4 separate regions of the Homo sapiens genome follow, and all the other regions are linked to region 2. Evidence: promoter capture Hi-C in 16 types of primary human blood cells and fetal thymus (Javierre and others, 2016). All regions are on one chromosome and are shown on one strand. The core of a region is centred on a gene start or on the middle of the fragment in contact, and the rest is flanking DNA. Distances in the headings are between cores, read along the strand shown. Region 1 has its middle 63 kb from the start of HS6ST2-AS1. Region 2 holds the start of STK26 (serine/threonine kinase 26). Region 3 has its middle 44 kb from the start of HS6ST2-AS1. Region 4 has its middle 83 kb from the start of HS6ST2-AS1.

Region 1 (4,255 bases), core at 544-3,043, 580 kb before region 2:
AAATTCATCATGGCTTTTCATGTTCCAAAGGAGGGTCTCCATACAGCAGAATGAGTTTGGGATTTGGAGTCTGCATGCCTGGGCTCTCCAGTTCCAGCTTTACTACTTACATGGATCACCTGAACCTCTTAAGATCGCAGTATCCTTATCTGTAAGATGTGTAGAAGGATGCTTACTTTATAACGTTATGTGGGGATTTCAAATAACATAGAAAGCACCTACTATAGTGTCTAGCACATAGAAGGTACTCAAAAGATAGGAAGAATGATGATGATGACAATGACAATGACGATGCCATTTTTGTCTCTGGGCCTTTGTGCATGTGGTTTCCTGTATCTGGAATGCCTTAACCCCCTTTCTTGATCAGCTCTCCTCACCCTTCACAATTCAATGTGAACATCCTCCAGGGAATTTTCTTAGGCCCTTTCTCTGGTCTCCTCATTTATGGAAGCTTCTTCATGCTTCCATCGCACTCTGCATTGACCTGAATGACAGTACATTTCCCAACAAGGCGTTAGTCATGTGGTTCCTTCACTGTTTAAAATTTCTTTTTTTTTAAATTATACTTTAAGTTTTGGGATACATGTGCAGAATGTGCTGGTTTGTTACGTAGGTATACACATGCCATGTTGGTTTGCTGCACCCATCAACCCGTCACCTACATTAGGTATTTCCCCTCATGCTATCCCTCCCCTAGTCCCCCGCCCCCCAACAGGCCCTGGTGTGTGACATTCCTCTCCCTGTGTCCATGTGTTCTCACTGTTCAACTCCCACTTATGAGTGAGAACCTGCAGTGTTTGGTTTTCTGTTCCTGTGTTAGTTTGCTGAGAATGACAAGGGCTAATATCCAGAATCCACTGTTTAAAATTTCAAATGCCCAAACCTTGAAAGCTGCTACTCTGAAAATCCATTCTGAACAGTCTCGTGCTTTTTTGAATTCTGAAAATGAATGTTTCAAAGTGCTCATAGGTGAGTCCCCTCTTCCATTAACTAAAGGTGACTATTTCCATGTCTTCTTCAGCTTTCTCCTCAATGAGTACTGTCCTGTGTTGGGAATTGGCATCAGTTGTCTCTCATACCTTTTTCCATTCAATCATCTTCAGAACTCTGCAAAGGAATATTAATCCTGTCTACAGATGGGAAAACTGAGACTCAGAGGATGTAGATAACTTTCTCAAAGTCACAGCTGGATGCTTCTTGGGGTACCTTGCCTGAAGAAATGTTGCATATAGATCTTTCACACTTGGATGTGGGCCAGTGGCAGTTGATAGGACCATTCTGAGGCAGGATCAAGAAACAACAGGCAATCAATCCTCCAGGCAGGTAAACAACATTTCATGTATGTTTTCTAAATTTAATGCTGAAAATGAAGCACGTCCTATGTGTCTCCACAGGGAGAGGACTCTTGGAAGCTTGTACATGGCTTCCTCTAAGACCTCCCTTCTCATGCCTTTTCCCTTTGCAGGTTTTGCATTGTATCCTTTAGCTGTGATAAATCTTATTTGTGAGTGCAAGTAAAAAAAAAATCCCCCAGGCAAAGGTAGGCAAGCATCCTGGCCCTGCCACTCACTGGCTGAGTGAGTTTGGCCCACTTAATTCACTCCCCATTGTCTCAGTTTCCTTATCTGTAAAATATGGATAATAATAGTACCAACATTACAGAGTTATAGAGAGAATTTAATGAGTCAATACATTTAAAGTATTTAGCACAGTGTCTGGCATGTGGTGAGCACTCAATTAAATGTTAGACATTATTATTGTTTCTAGGAAACAGAGGAGTGAGGGAAATGTATGAATGATATTATTACTACTAATAGGTCCAAAGGGGACTAATCCCATAGCAGCTTCAAGTTAAGTAAAGCTGAGTGTCTGGACAGCAGGGGGACATGGTGACCTAGGCAGGGAGTTAGCAATTCTCAGTGGTCAGAAGCAAGTCAAGAGGCAAAAAGCTAAAAAGGTAGTTGAAATGGTGACAAGACTTGAGATAAACCACTTTTTCATTTCATCCTTTCTCAGAAAGGCTGAGCCAGTGAGAGGCATACCCAGCCCTTGGAAGGTCCACTTATACAAGTACAGGGGATTTTGAAAGGGAAGATCACTCCACAGCATTGGGAATATCTCAGAAGTAATACACTGGAAAAATAGAAACCGCAGAGACACAAAAAGAAGCTTAAAAGACATTAAATATAGCCACTTTTGATATTTTTATGTTTATCTGTTTCTTTATTTTTTCCTATGCATGTGTAATTTTTAAGAAAATGAAAATCATGCTGTAAAGACAGTTTTTAACCTGTTTTCTTTAAATTCAAAATATAACTTGAATACCTTTTAATACCTGCTGTCAAGTATTTCTCCGCAGCATAATTTCTCATACCTGTCAAAATATAATTCTGATTATACAACTGCAATGAAAGAATAGGGGGAGGCATCCCAAGAAGCTAATGGGATCATATAAGGAGCTCTTGTATATGTTCAGCTTTGAAAAAGAACACATTCAAAACCTTGCAAGACCAGATTCTAAGCATTGCATCCCAGTGTCATCTGCAAACTTGATCATTTTGTCTTTTAGATATTTCTTCCATGTCATTCATTGTGGCCACCATGGTAATGTGCATTGCTGTTCCAACTACAGAGAACATCCTTGACCAAGGGCTCCAGCTGCCGTACTCTGCTGTTTGATCTCTCTCTGTTTGATTTTTCAAGGTCAGACTTACATTGCAGTCTGAGGCCACTCTGGGCCTCTCTGGCTCTAGTCCCATTTTCTCTCACACGTTTCCCCCAGTGAAATCATTGAACACTTAATCCGGTCTCTGTATCTACTTCTTGCAGGTCCCAAACTAACGCACTGATTAACAAGGGAGTAAATTGGGGCTGGGGTCAGAGGCCTACTGTACATGTCGCATTGCAGGTTACTATTTAGCCATCAGACCAGGAAGCTAGTCCATAATGACCCTGAACTGCCATCTATACCTTTTTGAAGCCATTTGGTCCAGCTGAACCCCAGGGGCTGGCAGGAACCAAATGTACCTTTTGGATACCGACAACTAAGGCTTCATAGGCTTCATAGGAAATATTTTTCATTTTCAAATTGCAGATGTCCTAGCTCACTATAGTCTATGAAATTAGCCAATTTTACCTGAAGGCCAGCCTGATTGAACAGCTACATGCTGACCCTGATGTTAGATAGCATCAGTCTTTCCAGCTCTTTGGTCAAAGTCATTACTCTCAAATATCACCACAGTCCCTGCCAATAATTATAATAAGAGCTAACATTTATTGAACACACAATTTGTGCCAAACACCAGGTATAGATTATTTTATTTCATTCTCATAACTACTCTATGAAGTAGGTCCTATTTTTTCACCCCAGGGAAGTTAGGTATTTGTTGAAGGTCACATAACTAATTAATAGCAACATTTAAAGTCAAGTCAGCTGGGCACAGTGACTCACGTCTGTAATCCCAGCACTTTGGGAGGCCGATCTGGGCACATCACGAGGTCAGGAGATCGGGACCATCCTGGCCAACATGGTGAAACCCCACTTCTACTAAAAATACAAAAAATTAGCTAGGCATGGTGGCGTGCACCTATAGTCCCAGCTACTCGGGAAGCTGAGGCAGGAGAATCGCTTAAACCCGGGAGGCAGAGGTTGCAGTGAGCCGAGATCGTGCCACTGCACTCCAGCCTGGCGACAGAGCAAGACTCTGTCAAAAAACAAAAACAAAAACAAAAACGAGTTAATTTAATTCACAACTTTTCCTCTGAATTACTAGAATAATCACACCAGGAACAGACTCACGGCAGCTTTTCCTGCCAGTGATATGTCTATGTGAGGACCTCAGGCTTTATTTACTCAACCTGCTTGCTAGGCAGTGACTTTGGCCTTCACCAGCCCTGACTCTCACTCCAGGATGGGAAGTGGTGCTGGATGGGGTGGACTTGGGTAAGGGGTTGTGTCCAAATTATCGTGCAGGGAAGTTTGCAGCTGAGAAGACAGCAGGTGTGCTCTAATCCTGAAAAGCCAGCTGGCAGAGGAGCTGGGATTACAGGAAAGCCCGTGCATCTCACTCTTTCCATTTGGGACACCATGCTCATGAATGATCTAATGGAGCAATCATGGGCTATAAGCACAAAAAGTAAAGAGAAATGATTTAGGCAGGGCTTTTTCCGCCCCCAAAAGTCCAGGGTGATTCTACCGAAAGAGAGTCCTCATTTGTTGTGTTAATACTTCATGGCATCGTGATGGCCTTAATTG
Region 2 (4,448 bases), core at 1,204-3,703:
CTGCACAAAGTGCTTAAGAACTACATTAGAAATAAAATGGAAATAAGAAGTTAAGAATTTACCATTTCATTAAGATGAAGAGAATGACCAAAAAAAAAAAAAAAAAAGATTCCTCTCTTCTTTGCTAACGTTGAGATGTTTGCCCTACTCAAATTAGGTGGGACAAAGTAATCACAACTCAGAGGGCACAGAGTGAAAGGCAGAATTTGTAATTTAAAGTATATGATTCACATTCGAATCCACATTAATTAAGATTTAAAAATTCAAGAGATAGGCAACTCAGATAATTAAAAGCAGGGAGCAATCAGAAATACTGAACAGCAAGCAGTTCCTAAACCATATAAATTCAATAAGTTCAAGACAAATAAAATAAAAATCAGAAACCATTTTCCCCTCAGCACACAGAGTTCCCCAGAATCACAAACTTGATGAACTGGAGGCACTCACTCTGCTGACGCACACACGCAGGCTCGCGCACACAATGGAGCGAGAAGCATGGAGACCCTCAGAGACAAACTTCACATGTGCATCGTTTTACTCTCCACAGAATGGAAAGAAGAGCACGGTGAGAAAATGTCACTTTTTCCCAGATCAAACAGCAAAACTGTACTTAGTATTGTGAACTATGAATTCCCTTGATACAATCAAAGGCAGAACTGAATGAATGGGGTGTGGGGCAGGGTGCGTGGGGAAAAGAAGGAGGGAAGGAGAGGGGAGGCCGCCTGAGAGGAAGAAAGTTTAAGGCATTTTGCAAGGCTTGAGTGGATTAATCTTTTTTTTTAAGCCCTACTATTTCCTATTTCCCTTTCTCTCTCTCTCTTTATTTAATATACACTAACTTCCTGAGACTCAACCCAGACTTGCCCTAAATGCAGCTGAAATGTCTGGTGTTTAGGACACACCAAGAGTTCTAGGTGCACAAATAAATCCCATTTTGGGAAAGAATTTAAAAATCACTTTTGTGGACATTCATAAAATGAGAACACTGAAAAAAAAAAAAAAACTCCATGTATCAATAAGTAAATTGAGGCCCCAGTCTACAGCTCTTTGATTTCTACTAGAAATATAAGCTATTTACTATAAACATTTTATTTTTGAACTTCAAAAAAGTTTGTTTTCACATTTTAGATCATGAAAGACTGAGGCTTCAGTGGTTTTAGCCCCTAAATGGGTTGTTTAGGCCATCTAGCAAAGGAAAAAAAAATAGAACATGAATGCTTTAAAAAGTTAGTAAATTTGGATAACACTTAGCAGATAGCCTAAAATGCACCGATTTAAAAACATAACAGCATAAAAAGTTTTCTGACATAGCTTATCTTTAATAAAATGAAAATATAATGGGAGGGGGTTGGGCTGGGTAGACTTCGAGTAACAAGTTGGGTCCCATGCAGTAGTCCCTTGTCCAAGACAAAAAGCTTCCTTTAACCACATGTAACAGTCATCTTGTGGGAAAGGCACGGAGGGGGCTGAGAAGTCATCACCTCAGTGACTCTGAACAGAACCAGCATTTCTCACGCCACACTATGGGCTGGGCTAGGTCGGGGAGCAAGCTACAACTTTGCCCTTAAGCAGCAGTACCGAAAGGGAGAAAGAGGTCACCTCTCTCTTAGCCCTACGCACACAGGAAGAGCCCAATTCAAGCCGCCGCCGCCGCCACCCCTGGTGTTGCCCCGCCCCAACTTGAGTGTGTGTTTGGGGTGGGGGGTGTAGGGCACTCACTACTCGCGTTATACCCCACAAATTCCAAGGCACTTCCATCTCTCCCAGGTTAAGTTCCGCCCCCCCATCCCCAACCGTGCCAAGCTCAGCAGGCGCAGGTGTCTGTGGCTCTGGCCTATTTTTATACCCCCAACCGCCCTCAATCTCCACCTAGTTGCGCGCTCCAGTCCCGCCTCGCCTTCCCAGCGAAGAGCACTACCTAGCCTACACACCAGGAAACACCTCCAGCCCTACTCCCAGGTCACCTGGCCATAGTGACCGGCCCTGCCCTCAGGGGAGCCCTGGGGCCGTCCCTTGTCGCCGGTGCCCAGCACCGAGGGCGCACCGGGCTCCCAAGCAGTCACGTGGGCGGCGGGGGCGGCCTGCGCTTCCTCACCTGCATCCCAGGCACTTGGACAGCCACCGGCGAGTGGGCCATGGAGGCGAATGCTGCCTCGCTCCGCTTCTGCGGCGGTGGCGCCTTGGGTTCGGACTGGCTCCTCCCTCCGGGGGTAGTTCGGCGGCCCTCCCAGGCTTTTCGATCGGGGCCTGGGAGGACACACAAAAGTGGGGTTACTGGGCTGGCGGCGCGTAGCCCGGGGCTAGGAGGTGGGCTGTTAGCGGCGCAGCTCCCTGGGACTCAGTCTACCTTTCTGGCGCCCGCCCGCCGCTGAAGCAGCCGCCTCCGCTGCTGCTCCTCTTCCTGAACGCCGAGCGCTGTGAGTGGTGGTGGCTGGGACCTGGGCTCGAGTGATGCCGCTCCTCTGCGCCTCGCCGCTTTAGGAAGAGGAGGTGGAGGCGCCCCAGCCACCCGCCTGCTCGCCTGGCCTGGGAGGCGGTTGGGGGCGGTTCCGCCGTTGGCCCTGCCCCCGCCCCGCAGCCGGGCGGTGTCGCGGGAGCCAAGGCTCCAGGCAGCGAAGAGGTTTGGCTGGGGTTGCTGGAGTCTGAGAAGCTGGAGACTCTCCCGGCACGCGGAGAGGAGAACCCGGGGACCCGGAGACCTGGGACATGGCTGGGCCTGGGAAGAGAATGGAAGAGTTTGGGAAACCCTGAGGGTATGAGGGCGCCCCAGATGCGGCCACGTTGCAGGGAGGCGTGCGAGGCTGGGGCACACGCAGCCTCGGAGACGACTTGAGCTGAAACTTGGGGAGTGTTGGAAGTCTTTCTTGGCTCCCCGGCCTGGCCAAGGGTAGGATTACAGATAGCCGCGGAGTCGGTGGACCCCCGCTTTTTCCCGCCATCTGGTCTCCTCAGCTGGGGGTCGCGCCTCTGGGCAGATCTGTGGCCACACTCTTGCTTTCCGAGTTCCCTGACCCCAAACATGCTTCAGGTGACTTCAACTTAAGGTTCCCCCTACCTCCTGGGCTATCCCTTGCAGAACGGCCAAACTAGGGCTTCTCTCTACCACAAGTTCTGCACGTGTAAGGCAGAGGGAAATTGGAAAACAGATGGTACATCGGCAGAAAAATTAATGAGGATAGTAGAGGCTTGGGAAATGAGATTGGATCGTTAGCAGTACAGGTTATTGAAATCAGCATACACTGCAGTGGTTTTGGTAACTCCCTGCCTCCGCCCCATTTTAAGTTCTACTCCAGGAGAGGGAGACAGGCTCTTTTGAGAGTACTCTAACAGTAGCGACAGTAACACTGGTAATAATAGTAACAGGAATTTCATTATGAAGGCACCTTTGGGAACACGTAAGGGGTTAATTACTTTTTAAAAAAGTAATAGTCGAGTGCCAGTTTAAAATGAAGATGAAGTTCCTTACCTTGAAATTTGTTATGGGTCTCTACGCACCACACGGTGGGGGGCCTCTAGTGGTAAAAGATAGTTTCTCTTCTTCCTTTTAAATCTTTTTCAGAGAATAGTATATAATTCTTATCAATATCGTTATTATTAATGGATATTATTTTCATTGTGCCAGGGACTGCTAAGTGCTTTCTATGTGTTATTAATACCTTACTGAACCTGTACAAGGGCCTTCTGGAGTCTTATTGATTTCCCCTCATTTTACAGATGAAGAAAAAGGCTCAACCAGGTTAAATAATTTGACCGAAATGTCACGCAATTAAGAAGTGGTACAGCTGGGAATTCAGACGCAGGTCCCTCTGACTGGTGATAAACTTACTACTTTCTCTATGGTTTCTGTTTGTGTTTAATGATGATAAAAGGTACAATTGCATTTTCCTTACTCCTAGTTCCCCAAGTCCAGCCCTTCACTATTTCTAACCTAATGTTAGGCTCCAATCTAGTCTCGATTTCCCACCAACCCAGCTCACAACATTGCCAGCCTGACCGGAAACCTGCAGTGCCACCTAAACTTTTAATGTCCATAGAAATCCGAGGGTTCTTTTGCTCCCTCAAAAGCGCAGATTTTTATCTCCCATGTCTGGACTGGGCCCAAGATTCTGCAATGCTAACAAGCTCTCACATGGTGATGATGTTTAGATCACACTTTTAAGTCGCAAGGGTCTGAATCAAGCTCCATCATTTAAGACCTGTCTCAAATCTCACCTCCATTGACCCTTCCTAGTTGCTCCAAGCCCTCCTTCAAACTCCTCCAATGTGAGCAGCGCTCACACTGTAGTTCTTTCTTCTTATTTCATATATTTCATTTGTTTTGTGTGCCCATATTAGGTCCTTGAGGGCAGAGATCCAGCCTCTCTTACATGAGAATGATTCAGGTAGGATGGCAGGAGTCTGAGGGCAAGCTTTTTATACATTTTGTCCATTGCTGTATCCCCAGAGAC
Region 3 (4,297 bases), core at 580-3,079, 600 kb before region 2:
TCCTTGCGCTTTTCCAAAGAGACTTTAAATGTCAGTCCCAAGGGGTTAGAGGAAGAAAGCTACAAATTTGGTTGGAGATGTAGTTAAGTAGCCTTAGCCTGTAAACTATTCATATGTATTGTATAAGTCCATTTTCATACTGCTATAAAGAACTGCCTGAGACTGGGTAATTTATAAAGGAAAGAGGTTTAATTGACTCACAGTTCTGCATGGTTGAGGAGGCCTCAGGAAACTCACAATCATGGCAGAAAGTGAAGGAAAAGCAAGGCATCTTCTTCACAAGGTGGCAGGAAGGAGAAGTGCTGAGTGAAGGGGGAAGAGCCCCTTATAAAACCATCAGATCTCGTGAGAACTCACTATCACAAGAACAGCAAAGGGGAAACCACCCTCATGATTCAATCACCTCCACCTGGTCTCTCCCTTGACACATGGGGATTATGGGGATTACAATTCAAGATGAGATTTGGGTGGGGACAAAAAGTCTAACCATATCAGCTTACATGGTTTTGCCTGTCAACTGCTTCTTGATCAATATTTGGGCTGCCAAAGGGCCTGATTGTATAAAGATCCTACACCCCCTTGGGAGGATCTGTGAACAGGAACATAAAGTCCAAGAACTTGAAATATTTCAGAAATAAAGTTTGGTTCCCTTTTCCCCTGAGGAGGGTAGGTACTCATGGAGAGCAGGGCGCTCTAACTGTAGTGGAGAAAAGATAGGAAACCTGCTAAGGAAATGAGCTATTGAGGCAGCCCAGGGAGGAGCTAAAATGAAGAAACAACGAATTGGCTCGGTTCCTCAGGACTTAATTAGGATTCTCAATAGGGGTGATAACCAAGTACAACCAGAACTACCTTTGGGTGATGGGTCTAATAAAGCTGTCACAATGGGAAGGATGGTTTCCTTCCATGGGTGGAGTACGGGGGTAAAAAGAAGCATAAAACTTGCATGCTGGGTCTGAGTCACAGAAGAGAACCACAGAATATTCCAGGTTGGCGATGTGCAACCCACAGCTTTCTTGCATTCATTGACCTGAAGACACTGCTTTTGACACTGAAAGTTGGGAAAGGGGAGACAGCATATTCCTTTTGCACAAATGGCCATCAGAGGTGGACTGGAAGTTTCTTCTCTCTTGTCTTCTCTAGAGATTGAACCAAGCAAAGAAACAAAAGCCGAGTACTTTGTAGAAAGTTCTAGCAAAAACACAGAGTATGCTGACTCTGAAAGTAACCCTCTGGGACTGTGGAATAAGGCAACTCAAATCTCTCACTTGGCAAGAATGAGGCCGCCTGACAGTTTTAAGTGTCCAAGGAATTTGATCAACACCTCACAATTTCCAAGGTACATCCCTCAGACCTTCACAAATGGGCAAAGCCCTCAGAACTTCAGGAGAAAACTATCCTGAAAACAAAGCAAATGAGCTGTTTCTCAGTACAAATGGCACTGTTCTGAGCAGCTAGAGCAGGGTCCAAAAACTACTGTCCTGGGGCCAAATGCAGCCCTCTGCCTGCTTTTGTAAATATAGTATTATTGGAACACAGCACGCCCATTTCTTTGCATATTTTCCCTGGCTGCTCTCATGCAACAGTGGCAGGAGTCGTTGCAACAGAGATCTTATGGCCCCAAAAGCCTAAAATACTTATTTTCTTGCCCCCCAAAGAAAAAGTTGGTCAGCCCTGGAACGAGAGAGCAGATCAAAATTTCCTAAGTATTGAAAACTTGGCGGAGTTTATAATGACCCCAGAGTCTGAGAGAATAAAAGGATGTGATTCAAACAACATACTTTCCAATACCATATCACCACAAACAACATTTACTGAGTACCTACTATGTGAGAGTCACTGCTTTTAGGCCTGAAAGCACGGGAGAACCTGGTCTTTTCTCTCAGGATTGCAGAAATCCCAGCCACATGCTGTGTCAGTAATTATAGGTGAGAGCTTAATTAGTTCTTCATTAGTCTTACATAGCTGATGCCTGCCAGTTCCTTGGAGTGTGTGCGTGTGTGTATGTGTTTTATCACATGCTTTTAAAAATTAAAACAATATATAAGTATGTAAAGTAAAAAGTGAAATTACCTATACAACTCCCACTTCCCCAAAATAACTACTGTGATTATGATTTCCTCCAGACCTCCTTGTCCTAGCCACATTCAAATCTGCTATCTCTCCCCCTCCCCCTTCCCTCCTGCTCTTCCTCCAACCCAACCGCACACACAAACACATATATTTATTTAAAAGGATAAAACCATATTGTTCTCATTGTTACCTGATTTCTTTTTTTTTTTATGAAAAAGTTCAGCAGTGTATCATGGATTCCCTTCCAAAACAGGAATATAGTGGATGGTTTATCCCAACAAAATTGATTACTGCTGATGTTATAGGTTGAGAGTATAGACTCTATATGCATGCTGCCTGGGTTTGAATCCCAGCTCCACCATTTACCAGCTCTGTGACCTTGAGAAAGTCTCTAACCTCTCCATGCCTCAGTTTCTTCACCTATAAATGGAGAAAATAAAAGCTGTAACTTCAGAGAGTTGTTGTGAGGATTAAATGAGTTAGTATCTGTAAAGCACTTAACACTGTGCCTGATATAGAATAAACTTTACTTTTCATTTTTATTTTTTTAGAGACAGACTCTCACTCTGTCACTGAGGTCAGAGTGCAGTGGTGTGATCATAGTTCATAGCAGCCTCAACCTCTTGAGCTCAACTGATCCTTCAGCCTCAGCCTCTCGAGTAGCTGGGACTACAGGTGCACGCTACCACTGCCAGCTAATTTTTTACAATTTTAGTAGAGATAAGGTCTCATTATGTTGCCCAGGCTGATCTGGAACTCCTGAGCTCAATCCTCCCACCATGGCCTCCCAAAGTTCCGAGATTACAGGCATGATAAAATAAACTTTATATGTGTTTGATAGTATTATAATAATCATTATTACTGTTATTAGCATAAGGACTAGATGTCTGCTGAATTCCTATATCTTCAGTAGCTAAAGACTGACTCTGAGATCAAGAATTAAAAATATTTGCAAGAAAAAGAGTATATTTCCTGTTGTGACTAATTTAAGGAAACCTTTCTAAAAAATAAAACAAATGTGTTTCAAATGTAACATAATCAAATGTATAAAGACTTATCTTAAAGTTTACTTCTGAGCTTCGAATGCAGCCAGTGACAGAAACATTCTGAAAGATGTAACCCACAAAATGCCAAGTGAGTCACAGATTCTCTCTCCAGCAATGAAAAGGCATTATCTGGTGTCTCTGGCTGATTGGGGACCTACTTTATCACACTTAGCCAAGGATGACTCACTTCCAGCCCCGCCCGTTTCCCACTCATCTCTCCACCCAATATTGCTGGAGTATGGGCTTGTCTGCCTGATGAGATCTGCGAGGACCCCAAAGGTCTAGCTGCTTCCCTTATGGGCCTAGCTTGGTGCCTGGAATGCCTACACTCCAAGGTTCTCTTCTGTGGGTGAAAGGAGCATGTCCAGAAGACCCTATTAAGATGCATTTATGCCACCTAGGAGGGAGGAGAGAGAGTAACCCATTAAAAGTTAGCACATATTAGTTTTCAAATTAGTAGTCACAGAGGGCCCTCGGGGAATGGGACACACAGGGCTTGTAAATTCAGCTAGCTCACTTTACTTAAACAAAAAAAAAAAAAAAAAAAAAAAAGAAGAAAAATGAACTTCTGCATTTATCCAATTTGAATTTTTAAATTTTAGTCCTATTGCCTTAAGGACAGAATAAGGTTCAATAATCTTCATCAAATCTCATTAAGTTGTACAAATTCTATTTTCATTATGCCTGGTTCAATCTTGTGACTTCACTAATATTAGTAAGATTTAATGATGCCTAACTGGGCCTAAGAAAAGTTTAACAGTTTTTGTGACTTAAAAATGCTCTACTGGATTTCATGTAACTTATAAGGACCTGAGAAGAACAGTCAAGTCTTAAAAGAGAGTGCTACACCATAGCTTGATAGGACCTAACCAGCCAACTAGAGCCAATCTTAATCAGCCTTTTCATGGATTCATCCAAAACACAAGATTGCTTTTTTTTTTCTCAGTCCTGAAGGCGGTCTTCTGTCCCTGAAACTACCTAGAGTAGGATTACATGTTCATCAAGGCCCTTGAGACCATATGGCAAAGACATTATGAATTCGGTCAAAAAGATGGATTCTGGCTTCACAAGGCTGAACACATAGGAAGGAAGTTGAAATAAGGAGCCTGAACACTGATTAGTTAAGATGAATAGCATTTATCAAGGATAAGCTTGAAGGCTGGGCACTGTGGCTCATG
Region 4 (4,209 bases), core at 1,156-3,655, 560 kb before region 2:
TACACACTGTACATTTCACCCATTTACAGAGTATAATTCAATTCTTTTTAGTGTACTCATTGAGTTGTGCAATCATCACCACTATCTAATTTTAGAATATTTTAATCACCCAAAAAGAAACCCTATACCCTTTAAGAACTAACTTCCCTCTCTCCTCTCCTCACAACCATTGGCAATTACTAATCTACATTCTGTCTCTGTAGATTTACCTATTCTGGATATTTAATATAAATGGAATGATGTATTATGTGGCATTCTTTGTCTGGCTTCTTTTACATGGCATAATGTCTTCAAGGTTCATCCATGTTGCAGCATGGATCAGCATTTCATTCCTTTTTATGGGTGAATAATATTCCATTGTATGATTATACCACATTTTGTTTATCCATTCATCAACTAATGGGCATTTCAGTTGAAATTCTATTTTGAATAATGCTGCTATGAACATTCCTTTACAAGCTTTTGTGTGGATATGTGTTTTCATTTATCTTGGGTACATATTTAGGATTGGAATTGCTGGCTCATATAGTAGCTGTATGTTCAGCATTTTGCCAGTGGGTTCTTAGCCATAGTTTTTAACACTCTTTTCTAAATTTAATTGAATTTAAAGAGATTGTAAATGAGTATGCTACATAGGCTTAATTAAGTAAAATTTTTCCTCAATACCATTTGTGAAGTTGAATTTAAAATTCAAAGTAAGTTTATACAAAACATGAATTCTTCAAATTGCCTTCTAATTAGATAATTAGTCATATTGGTACATTTTAGTATCTTATGCAGGTACATTGTCTTAAAAACAAGACCATTATCTGCTTGATAATGCATAGGCTAATTTCTGTGTTTCCCTGGATGTTCTTCCCTTAACATGAACTTGCCTGGAGAAGAAGGAAGAAAAACATAGCTTTTTCCATTTTCAGGTTAACAGTCTGTTATATTCCTAGTTGTTATGGCCACAGGTGTAACAATACAGAAGCTTGGGGACCCTCCTAAAGTGTAGTCAAGTCAAGCTCAACTGGTATGAAGTCAAAGCAATGGTGATAGAGGAAGACTTGAAAATCATCACTGGGATAACCAGTCCAAATTCAAGGCTCATTGCTTTTCTATGACAATCTTGGCCAACTGTGTTCAGACAATTGCAATAGCACGTTGATATAGTGCATTTGTATGTGCCTACCACTGTGCTAATTGCTTTACATGCATCATTTCATTAAACTCATTTTACAGCTGGAAAAACTAAGGCCTGGAGGTTTAAATAACTATCTCGAGATAATAAGACATATAGTAAGGCAAATTTAAAATGCAGGTCTGTCTGAATCCAGAGTCCACACTTTTAATTACCTAAGTTCTACTTTGATGAGAGCTTAACTTCACAGCTTTTAAATCTTCTGCCCTTGCCCGAGAGAGAGAGGAAAAAAAAAACCAAAATAATTGTTTTCTTCTTCCACACATTCTGGTACTCATGATTGCCAAGTGGCAATGCGGGTAGGTGGTCTCAAAATGACCCTTCTATTTACCGGATGTACCATAAAAACAGTCAGGAGAGGAATAGCCTTCTGCTCCTCTGGCGATAACTACTATAATTACATGTTCTGAATTTTCCAAGAAAGGATGGAGGAGAAGATTAAAGAGGGCCTGCCAATACCTTCCCTGCCCGTATCCCCATTCTCACCTCCGGCAACCTCCTCCCTCATATACTATGTTTTGGCAATATCCAAATGCTGGTAGTCTCCTGCACGTACTATGTTGTTTCTCACCTTTCTCACCCCTGAGGCTTTGCTCATGTTACTTCTATCTATGGAATGCCTTTCTCCTCTTCTTAACTTGGAAGAGCTCCCAATTAACCTTTAAGGCTCATCACCTGCTTTGGGAAGCCTGCCCTAATCTCTCTTTTGTTCCTTCCTAACAGCATATGCACAGATTTATATTGTGGTATTTTCCACACTGTAACTAAATTGTCTATTTCTTGGTCTCCTTGTCTTCATTGTGACCTCCTTAAGAACAGACACTCTATCTCATTTGTCTGAGTTTCAATGCCTAGTACAGTGATTGCCACACATAGCAAGTGCTCGATAAATATTTATTGAACGAATACATGAGTGAACACATAAACTAATAATTATGGTGCACTTATTACAGGGCAGGCCCTTTATAAATATCAAATTATTTAGTCCCAAAAACAAACCTTGGAGTTAGGTAGCAATATGTCCATGTGGATAGATGAAGGAATTAAAGCACAGATAACTCAGCTAGTATGTAGGAGTGCTAGAATTCAAACCCAAGCTTCAGTGGCTCCAATGTCTGGCTCTGTCCACATGCCCTTACTCTCTGCTACCATAGAAAACTGACTCTGGATTTTAAACCCCTGTTATCTGTGTCTATATATCATGGGAATGGCCCCCAAGTTCAAACATTTCCATGTACAAGTTGCATCCCTCACTTGTCACACTCAGAAGCAGCACACAAGACCTCTGTCATACAGCTTACCTGATTTTTATTTGATATTTTGGTGAATGTGGTCACAGAAGCTTGGGTAGAAGTCAAGTTCTGGTTCTTTTTAAAATTTAAATTAAATTAAAAAAATTTTTGAGACAGGGTCGCACTCTGTCACCCAGGCTGGAGTGCAGTGGTGAAATTTAGCTCATTGTAACCTTGAACTTCTGGGCTCAAGGGATCCTCCTGCCTCAGCCTCCGGAGTATATTTGGGACTACAGGCATGCATCACCATGCCAGGCTAATTTTTTTTCAGCTTGTTTTAGAGTCTTGCTATGTTGTCCAGCTGGTCTTGAGCTCCTGGGCTCAAGTGATCCTCCTGTCTAAGCCTCCCAAAGCACTGAGATTACAGGCATAAACTATCATGCTCGGCCAAGACCTGATTCTTTATGAAGCTCTTTTATTGTATGCTTATTATTCTGCTTGCCTTTGAATAGTGGTCACCTCACTATGCACATAGTGGTTACCTCACTATGCATGTCAAAGGCAAGCAGAAATGACTCTCTACAACCTAACAGTGTGGAAAACAAGGTTTAAGGACCTTAGCAAAACATAGCAAGAGGGAGTCAAGGGTGATAAAACATTTACTGTCAACATTTTGAGAGGAGTAGTTTTAAAGAATTTTATTTTTTTTAATTCACACAGATTTTAATTGCATCACCCAGTGAGAGCTGCTGGAAAGGCCCAGAGGCTTTTAGAAGTCCTTGTGAATGCATAGATATAAAATCTCTTACACTCCCTTTCTGATGCCACTGAACATCTTTGATTCTATCAAGCAGTAATGGAACTGGTTTGTGATCTCTGAAGTAGTACTGGATACCACCAAATTGGTTCTAAATAGTTTGCTTTGACGTAGGTCGTTGCGCTCACTCAGCACAAACCTCATTCTTTTCCTATCTAAACAAGAAATCATCTCAGGCCACCTCCATTATTATAGGCCATGAAACTGTGCTCCTGTAAGTCACTAAGAGGCACCTTTTTTTGTTCTTCCTCAGAATGTGCTCAAGGTAAAAGCCTAAATGGCAAAGCCAGAATTAAATGCCTCGTCCAGCCCTGACACTCATGTTCTTTCTAGTCCATTAAGCTGCCTTCCAAGTTCAAATCTGCAGCTCTCACAAGGCCATGGAAATGTCTCCTAAATTTTAACATTTCAGTGTCTAAACCATTTCTTCCTTCTTGCTTCTTGGTTCCCAGAAGCAAAAGGAAATATCTTACATGCTTTTCTTTACCAGAAAGATTTTGTTATATTATTCAGAAAAAGGTTTATTCTGCTAACCATGGCTGTAGATATTTACATTAATCATCTAAAGTTTTCTTGAAGACTCTTCTAAAAAACTTACACAGCATACTTCATCTAGCTTGTGATAAAGTACATAGAAGACTTCCTGAGCAACTATCCATTTACCTTTATCTCAGGAAAGGAATGCTAGCACCTTATTCCATTCTTCAAACATTTGCCACTGCATTGTGTCATCATTCCTGATATTCTGGTTTTATCTATCATTGGCTGTATTTTCTAACACTGGAGCAGAGTTCATTTTCTTTTGATTTTTAATCTATATGTAATCTTCTGTTCACTACGTGGAATCAGACATGTCTGTTTTTGCATAAAGAGCTTTAAGTTACAGGTGTAGCACGAGGGTGGTTGTTGAGGAAAAAGGAGGGGGAATTTCCACATTCTGATCTCCCAAATGATGAGGAAAATGATGTGATGCTTGG

Evidence for each region. Contacts are between HindIII fragments. The CHiCAGO score rates a contact against its expected background, and 5 or more counts as called.
Region 1: a fragment that was not itself captured here is called in contact with the fragment with the promoter of STK26 in region 2 in 3 of 17 cell types (naive CD4 T cells, total CD4 T cells and naive B cells); the score reaches 6.1 in naive CD4 T cells.
Region 3: a contact is called between a fragment that was not itself captured here and the fragment with the promoter of STK26 in region 2, in 7 of 17 cell types (total B cells, naive B cells, activated CD4 T cells and 4 more). The highest score is 12.4, in total B cells.
Region 4: a contact is called between a fragment that was not itself captured here and the fragment with the promoter of STK26 in region 2, in 1 of 17 cell types (naive B cells). The highest score is 5.5, in naive B cells.

The regions. Positions count from the first base shown.
Region 1 is chrX:132,602,542-132,606,796 of GRCh38, reverse strand. No RefSeq gene overlaps it. Among named protein-coding and RNA genes, the nearest start is that of HS6ST2-AS1, 63 kb to the left of the region's middle. The HindIII fragment of the contact is 757 bases long and covers 1,415-2,171 here.
Region 2 is chrX:132,021,307-132,025,754 of GRCh38, reverse strand. It overlaps STK26 (serine/threonine kinase 26), which reads right to left and starts at 2,453. Exons shown (of 12, transcript NM_016542.4): 1 at 2,348-2,453; 2 at 2,096-2,247. The coding sequence starts at 2,137. RefSeq lists enhancers at 1,772-1,841, 1,811-2,358, 2,212-2,371, 2,822-2,871, 2,359-2,905 and a silencer at 2,412-2,661. The HindIII fragment of the contact is 2,994 bases long and covers 1,418-4,411 here.
Region 3 is chrX:132,621,346-132,625,642 of GRCh38, reverse strand. No RefSeq gene overlaps it. Among named protein-coding and RNA genes, the nearest start is that of HS6ST2-AS1, 44 kb to the left of the region's middle. The HindIII fragment of the contact is 4,887 bases long and covers 1-4,272 here.
Region 4 is chrX:132,582,644-132,586,852 of GRCh38, reverse strand. No RefSeq gene overlaps it. Among named protein-coding and RNA genes, the nearest start is that of HS6ST2-AS1, 83 kb to the left of the region's middle. The HindIII fragment of the contact is 245 bases long and covers 2,283-2,527 here.